Linked DNA regions of Homo sapiens: all the other regions are linked to region 2. The links are contacts of gene promoters, found by promoter capture Hi-C in human tissues and cell types (Jung and others, 2019). All regions are on one chromosome and are shown on one strand. The core of a region is centred on a gene start or on the middle of the fragment in contact, and the rest is flanking DNA. Distances in the headings are between cores, read along the strand shown.

Region 1 (2,782 bases), core at 203-2,702, 33 kb after region 2:
TTGACCCTAACCTTAATGGTGATTACTGTTCGAGGTTTTTCAAACACATAGTGAATAAGGACAGCTGGTGCAATGGCACGCCCTCCAATTGGCTACGTTACACAGATAAACATTCTTAATCTTTCTGAGGTTTTGTATAGAAGAGTGGAGAATTGTACCAACTTTTCTCCCCCCGGTTGTACATCTTCACTTTGTCACCAAGCCTGGATTCCTCATCTGTAAAATAGTATCCCCTCAGAGTTGCTATGAGAAATAAATGAAGTGATTTGAGTAAGGCATGGCACCTGGAACATAGTACATCGTGCATAAGAAGCAGCTATTGTTATTATCTCCTAATTTGTCAAATGAGCAGGGCGTATTGCCAGATAAGCTCTTTAAAGTTTTAATGTTCACATTCTATAAATCTAGGAAAATCTTTCCTCCACTGCCCACCCACACTTGGATTTTGAGAACTGCATCTTCATTGAGGGTAACGTGTTAGAAAGCTCTCAAACATTATAGCCCTCACAGAATGTATAGTACTTCATAATTCACCAAGTACTTTCGTGTCCATTCTCTCATTCAATCCTAGAACAATCTATGATGAAACAAAGCAGGTATCACAATTCCTGTTTTATAGATCAGAAAACTTAGGGCTTAGAGAGATCAAATGACTTACCCAAGGGCATAGTGGCTGGAAGGTTGCAGGGCAAGGCCTATTGCCAGAATCTTCTCAGATATCCCATGTCTGTTGGAGCATTCTTCTACTCCAGTGTGGATTTGCCTTTCTGATGGCTTTGACTGGAGAACTGTATTGGGTAGTTCATCAAAATAAGAAGCCTTGAGTTCATATAGTGAAAAATAAGATCACCTTTTCCCTTTGTTCATTGGCTTGATTTATTAGGATTGTATTCTCAAACCTTTCCTGCTATTAAAGGAAATGACCTTAGTTTGTGTTGCATGAAATAGCATTAAGTCAAGTTTACAACATTTCAAAGTTATGGTCAGTAGCATTCCAATTAGAACCTAAAAAGCTTACCTAGCTGAGGTTTAAGTCGTTGATCTTGGAAAAGGTAAAGACTTCTCAGGGAGGTTGGGCTGCTGTGTATGACAGCTAGACCCTCAGTTCTTGGTCTGTTAACATGTGGCCCATTTCTTCCTATCCATGCCCCTCCATAAAGCTTTGTGCGCTGGTAGTATTTACAGTACTGGATGATAATTATGGCATTAATTATTTGAGATAAATGGAGTGTGCCCAGTAGCCAATAGACTATTGTTAGAGTATTATTAGTATTTTTATAGGTCTTTTGGATAGCATTCTATTTCAAGACATTTGAAAATGTAGACCAGATTAGTCAAAAGCATTGTACATGATCTGTCCATGAGTGTAGGCTCTCATTAGAACTTCTGGAATCATTCTGAAATATACCCAGCTAGATAATACTAAGTCATACCAATTAAAAGGAAAGACTTGAGTTTGAGTTATAGAATGTTGGAGAGAAATCTAGTTTATTACTTTTAATATTGAAGTCAAATTTTGATTTTTCTTTTATGGTTAATATTACCTGGGTCCTAAGAAAGATTGCAAACATGTTTTCTTACCTTTTTTCTTGTAGAAGCTTTATATGATGTTAGCTTTTGCATTTAGGTCTGTGGTCCATTTCAAATTAATTTCTTTTCTATGGTATGAGGTTGGGGTTAAGAGGTTAATTCCAGCCACCTCCCTTGTGGGTATCCAGTTGCTCCAGCAACATATGTTGAAAATGCTTTCCTGTCCTCATTTAATTGCTTTGGTACCTTTATTGAAAATCAATGGATCACATAAATTTGGTTCTGTTTCTAGGGTCTCTGTTCTGTTCCATTGACACATTTGTCTTTATGCTATCTCTGTACTGTTATTATTACTGATGCTTTGTTTTAAGTCTAAACATTGGATTATATAAGTTCTTCCATTTTTGTTCTCCACCCCTCACTACAAGATTGTATTGGCTATTCTAGGTCCTTTGCATTTCTATCTAAATTTTAGAATTAACTTGTCAATTTCTATAAAACAGCCTTCTGGGGTTTTGATTGAGATGACGTCGAATCTATAGGTCAATTTGGGGAGAAGGATAGCTTAAGAACATTGAGTCTTCTAATCACTGAGTGTGATGTATCTCTTTAGATCTTCTCTAATTTTTCTCAGCAATGTTATTAGTATAGAGGTCTTACATGTATTTTATTTATCCCTAATTTTTATATTATTTTTGATTTTATTGCACATAGAATTTTAAAAAGAATCTTCTAGTTGTTTATTACTAGTATATGGAAACATGCTTGATTTTTGTATATGTTGCCTTGTACATGCCGCCTTGTCACATTTACTTATTACTTCCAGTAGTTTTTGAAGATTCTTTAGAATTTTCTATGAACACAATTATTTTGTGAATAAAGATAGTTTTGTTTCTTCCATTCTAATACTTATTTATGTATATATGTATGTATGTATTTTTCTTGCCTTGTAACATTGGCTAAGACCTTCCATATGGTATAGAATAGAAATGGTAAGAGTGTAGACATTCTTGCCTTCTTCTTGAACTCAGAAAGTGTTTATTCTTTCATCACTGAGTACAGTGTTAGTTGGAGGTTCTGCATAGGTGTCCTTTATTGGTTGAGGAAGTTTCCTTCTGTTTCTATTTTCCTGAGAGTTTTTATTATGAAAGGATGTTGAATTTTGTCAAATGTCTTTTCTACATGTATTGAGATAATCATATGGTTTTTCTCCTTTATTTTATTGTGGTAAATTCCATTGAATTTTGCATGT
Region 2 (2,754 bases), core at 213-2,712:
GAGGGAACCGTCTTCTATTCCCTTCAGATTTTGGATCAGAAGCAGCCATAGGAGAGGTGGCCCAGGCCAGCTTTATATTGTTACTAGACCGTAGGGCGATTTCTCGCCTCTCCAGTCTCCAAAAACAAAGCACAAAAAAGGACAAGAGCCTGGTTGTTTTCATCCTCACGGACCAGACACCCCCTCAGGAAGGCCTCTGGAGAGTCTTCTGTCTGGTCCCCAGTCTCTCTGCCCAGGTGCCCCCCAACAATTGAGGATGACTAGTGTGTTCTCTTTGGGTAAGGAGCACCTTCCCATAAACACTTATTTTTCTTAATTCACGCTGAGCTTTTACTTTATTTTCGCTTTAAAGTCACTGTTCTGAAACGTTCTAAAACGCCGTAGGAACATGCAGATAGGAACAAAAGCAAATAAATCGAATCCTGTGAAGTAACAAAGCAGACGCCCTTCTCCTAACAGGCAGCACAAAGCTAAATGAAAAATATCAGTCATCCACTAGATAAAGTATTTTCCCCTTTAGACAGGAGCTGCCGTTTGCAAATCTCCCCCACCCTAAATCCAAGCCAGCGAAGGTATCAAAAAATAAACTACTCCCTTCAGCTCCCAGACTGGAGGCAACAGTTTCAGCAGCACCGTCTATTTCCTTGAACAACACGAGCGGTTTGAAAGACCTTGGCTTTGACTTCCCTGTACCTGCCTCCAAACACACGTGGGGGCGGGGTGGGGTGGGGGGAGATATTGCCCCCCATCCCCGTTGCCTTCCGCGACGCCAGGCCAGGCGCAGGGCAGGGGAGAAGATGGGGGGCGCCCTGGATTCGCGGTTCCAGCTGCAGGCAGTTACCTGGGGTAGTGAGTGCTCTCTACAGACCCGGGCTACCCCAACCCCCCCGATTCCAGAAAGGGCCGGAGAAAAGCAGGGGGCGCCTGCCCCGCTCCGGAGCAGCCAGGGAGCCCGGCCGAGCCTTGACGAGGATGAGCTCGGAGACCGCAGCAGCTACCGCCCGCTAGCACCTGAGCTCCCAGGGGGCGGGGCCTCCTCCAGGTGTGCGCAGAGGAGGCCGGCGCGGAGTCGGGGCCGGCGCGGGAGCCCGAGCTGTCCCCCAGCCCAGAAATGCGCGGGGAGGAGCGGTTCATCCGCACCCCAGCGCCGCGGGAGACACTGGCGCCGCCTGCCTCCTCCGGGTCCCGGGGGGAGAGCGCACCGTGCGGCGCGGAGGGGGTTAACCGGGCAGCCCGCCGCTGGAGCGCGCTTAACCCTTTGGAGCCCGCAGGTCAGCCGGGCCAGGCTGGGGTGGCGGCACCCCGAGTCCCACGCGACGGCCACCCCGAGCGCGCAAGTGGTGCCGGGCAGAACCGCGCGCCGGGCTGCAGACCCGCCGGGGCGCGGCGCGGCGCGGGCCGTGGGCGGCTCGGGGCGGGCGGAGGGCGGGGGACGGCGGCGGGCGCGCAGCGTCGCCAGGGCGAAGCCGGCGTGCGGCGCGGCGCGGCGGGCGCGGAGCGAGCGGGCGGGCGAGCGCCTCCGTCCCCGGATGTGAGCTCCGGCTGCCCGCGGTCCCGAGCCAGCGGCGGCGCGGGCGGCGGCGGCGGGCACCGGGCACCGCGGCGGGCGGGCAGACGGGCGGGCATGGGGGGAGCGCCGAGCGGCCCCGGCGGCCGGGCCGGCATCACCGCGGCGTCTCTCCGCTAGAGGAGGGGACAAGCCAGTTCTCCTTTGCAGCAAAAAATTACATGTATATATTATTAAGATAATATATACATTGGATTTTATTTTTTTAAAAAGTTTATTTTGCTCCATTTTTGAAAAAGAGAGAGCTTGGGTGGCGAGCGGTTTTTTTTTTAAATCAATTATCCTTATTTTCTGTTATTTGTCCCCGTCCCTCCCCACCCCCCTGCTGAAGCGAGAATAAGGGCAGGGACCGCGGCTCCTACCTCTTGGTGATCCCCTTCCCCATTCCGCCCCCGCCTCAACGCCCAGCACAGTGCCCTGCACACAGTAGTCGCTCAATAAATGTTCGTGGATGATGATGATGATGATGATGAAAAAAATGCAGCATCAACGGCAGCAGCAAGCGGACCACGCGAACGGTGAGCAGCCAGAGCCCGGGCACCCGCTGCCAAATCCGATCCTGTCATGGTCCTCCAGCCCCCTCCCCCTTCCCCGCGGCGCTGGATGGGTTGAGGGGGTTGGAGAGGGTGCTGCCAGCTCGGTGTCGTCTACACAGAGAGGGGACATGCGTGACAGCCACTCCGCGCTCCCCTCCAGGCCCTGAATGTCAGAGTTAATTCTGCATTTGTGGGGTGGGGGCGGCCGTGGAGTGTGTGGAGCGCGGTGCAGCCGGAGGGGCGGCGAGTCGGGGTGATTCGGGTTCAGTGTCCTCGGGCTCAACTTTCCTTCAACGCCCCCGAGCGATGGCAGGAGGGCCGCAAGTCTTCAGCCGGAGCCCCCTTGCCAGCCTCTTCTCGCCTTCCACTCCTCCCCCGCCCCCTCGTTGACTAGGAAGAAGGTCCCTGGTGGCATCCGGAAAATTCTAGGATTGCCCGGTTTCGCCCTCCGCGCCGGTGGGTGAAGCACACCCATCCCCTCGCGGGGGAGGCCCGGCCTCGGTATCGGGGAAAGGGGTTCGGGTGGAGCGTGCGTTCCCGCTCCCGTCGCCGGCTGTGCACACGTCGGTAACCTAGCAATGCCCGGGGAGCCGCTGCCGCTGTGGGGCTCCCCTCCCCAGCTCTGGCCCGGGCACCACGTGCAGCTTCCAC
Region 3 (2,827 bases), core at 213-2,712, 46 kb before region 2:
CAAGTAGCTGGGATTCCAGGCACAGGCCAGCACACCCAGCTAATTTTTGTATTTTAGTGGAGACGGGGTTTTGCCACGTTGGCTAAGCTGGTCTTGTACTCCTGACTTCACGTGATCTGCCTGCCTTGGCCTGCCAAAGTGCTGGGATTACAGGTGTGAGCCACCATGCCCGGTCCATAAATATATTTTAAATGAATGAATGTGTATGTGCAGGACTTGTTCTCTGATAGGCTTAACAACAGGACAACTGGATTGGTGGATGGTTGGCTTTTTTTGTTTGAGATCCCCAAATATCAGCATCTTTAGGTCTTTGCCCATCTGCCATTCAGTTTCTCCAAGAAAGAAACTTACAGAATATTCTCCAGTCTATTCATCCACATTACATCCATATTACAGCCCATTCATGCAATCTCCCACTTGAGGTGTCTAAGAAGCCAACTGCCATCATCTTATAGCTATGCAGTGGAAAGGACTGAGGTTCTCATATTCAGTCTGCAGATTTTCCCTTATCTCCCAGTTTTCAGTTCTTTTCCTCAACAACTCTCTAGTCCCTAGGCTTATTGTCCTCTGATTTGGTCTTTTCTGATTCAATTTCTGTCTCCTGTGAGAAGGGGAGTCAGTTGAATATGCCAGGGGTTCGGATCCTGGGGGACTTACCTGCTGCCACTGGCATCCGTCTGGTACTTACATTTCTTGGTTTGATTCTTCCAGATTTTTTTTTGTTGTTTTTTGGAGAGACAGGGTTTTGCTCTGTTGTCCAGGCTGGAGTGCAGTGGTGTGATCATAGCTCACCACAGCCTCATATTCCTGGGCTGAATCTATCCTCCTGCCTCAGCCTCTCAAGTATCTGGGATTACAGGCATGTCCCACCATGCCTGGCTGATTCTTCTAGAATTCTTGAGGATGAATTAGCTTTTCTTTCACTGATATCTTCTTTTGTGTGTGCTCAGGTTTAACCTTTCTCTGTTCTGTTAAGTCATTTATCCTTTCTCTATCCATTTTCTGACTTTATATGGAGTTTCTCTTTGTTTTCTTCCTCATCTTGGAGAGAGTTTTGAGAGGAAAAGAATGCCATGTTGATACTGAAAATCCAAAAAAAAAAAAAAAAAAAATTCATCCAGATGTGTAACCTCTCTTTGGGGATAAGCTTAAAGTGTAACAATATTGATGACAAATGGAAAGTCTTATCAGAGGAAGCTTAATTCTGTACTAATGGGGAACATTAGGAAAAGGCTTCTAGACAACTCAAGTGTTAAATAGGATTGGAGGAGGACGAGGTGAGAGGTACCATCTACAGTCAATGATTCTGATAGTTCATACCTTTTGGCCCTGTAATTGCCGCTCTATGACTATGTCTTAAGGAATAACCAGAAACTTGGGCTAATAAATGTGCAATTGTGTTCATTGTTACTAGACATATGGTCTAAATTAGTGAAGCCATGGCAAAATAAAATATGATATACTCATTGATATATTAATATAGACTTTTTTTTTTTTTTTTTGCGACGGAGTCTCGCTCTGTCCCCCAGGCTGGAGTGCAGTGGCATAATCTCGGCTCACTGCAAGCTCCACTTCCCGGGTTCACACCATTCTCCTGCCTCAGCCTCCCGAGTAGCTGAGACTACAGGTGCCCACCACCACGCCCGGCTAATTTTTTGTATTATTAGTAGAGACGGGGTTTCACCCTGTTAGCCAGGATGGTCTTGATCTCCTGACCTCGTGATCCGCCTGCCTCGGCCTCCCAAAGTGCTGGGATTACAGGCGTGAGCCACTGCGCCCGGCCTAATATAGACATTAAAAGATATTTTTAAAGGTATTTTTTAAAAGTTAAAAAAGGTACTTTTTGACTGTTTAATGACATGAGAAAGTGTTCACAATCTATTAAATATATTAAATGATAAAACAAGATAAGTACATATTACTTTTATTGTAAGAAAGCTTTTTAAAGGCACAACTAAATTAGGGTGCCATTTAATTTATTTTCAACCATTTAAAAAGATTCCTAAAAGGTACACAAAGTGAGTGTTGTATAAACCAGAAGTACCAAATCATACCAAATTATGGTTTATAAATTAGTTTAAAAGAAAGCATTGGTTTCCTTTCTGAGGTACCCTTTTCTCCTATGGATAGGCATGAAAGGGAATAAAGCAGTCATACTCCTTTTCAAGGAAACCAATTACCTTTCCTTCAGACTGTTTGGTAAACTTATAAGCCTTCGCTTTCCAGCTTTCCAAAATAATCTTTGAATGTACTTTAAAAGAACAGCTTTTCCCAATAGTCTGCCAAGCTTTTAAAAAAAGAACTACTCTTGACCAAGTTTGGAAAAGTGCGTAAGTGTTCACTCCACATAAAACCAGTGTGTTCATTTCATAGAAAATTCCTCAGTATGTAAGACATTTTAGAGCATGCACATGGCCTGTGCTCTAATATTAGTTATTGATACTGAAAGCATTTTATTTAGGGAAAAATGATTTCCTTAGTGAAGATGTCAGTTTTTGTACCTAACCCCTTCACTACATAAAATGGATGTTGGGAAATGTCATGGCTCAGGAGATAAGCATCACCGTGAACCTTTGTGCTTAGCCTGCATTCATTTACTCGATTCACAGGGACAGAAACTGTATAGCTTCTAGGAGGGTACATCTAGCCTTTGGGCAAAGCAAGAGTTAGGATGATGAGCAAAAGTTAAATGAGGGTATGTGTCCTTATCTGTTTTCCTTGCTCTTATTCTTTGTGTTCTTTCTCTCCTCCCTGCCCCACCCCCAATTTCCATTGGAAATGGAGAGGATAAGTATTTATATTTGCTGTTCCACACTCACAAACACTC

The links. The method cuts DNA at HindIII sites, captures the fragments that hold promoters and counts their contacts. A contact is called where the count stands out against the background at its distance.
Region 1: a fragment that was not itself captured here is called in contact with the fragment with the promoter of CACNA1D in region 2 in 1 of the 25 tissues and cell types used here (spleen).
Region 3: a contact is called between a fragment that was not itself captured here and the fragment with the promoter of CACNA1D in region 2, in 1 of the 25 tissues and cell types used here (hippocampus).

Annotation. Positions count from the first base shown.
Region 1 is chr3:53,526,540-53,529,321 of GRCh38, forward strand. The region is part of intron 3 of CACNA1D (calcium voltage-gated channel subunit alpha1 D); the gene reads left to right. Among named protein-coding and RNA genes, the nearest start is that of CACNA1D, 33 kb to the left of the region's middle. RefSeq lists an enhancer at 1-490. The HindIII fragment of the contact is 4,025 bases long and covers 1-2,782 here.
Region 2 is chr3:53,493,149-53,495,902 of GRCh38, forward strand. CACNA1D (calcium voltage-gated channel subunit alpha1 D) reads left to right here and starts at 1,463. Exons shown (of 48, transcript NM_001128840.3): 1 at 1,463-2,085. The coding sequence starts at 2,019. RefSeq lists enhancers at 912-1,411, 1,742-2,527, 2,528-2,754. The HindIII fragment of the contact is 18,707 bases long and covers 1-2,754 here.
Region 3 is chr3:53,447,440-53,450,266 of GRCh38, forward strand. No RefSeq gene overlaps it. Among named protein-coding and RNA genes, the nearest start is that of CACNA1D, 46 kb to the right of the region's middle. The HindIII fragment of the contact is 3,106 bases long and covers 1-2,827 here.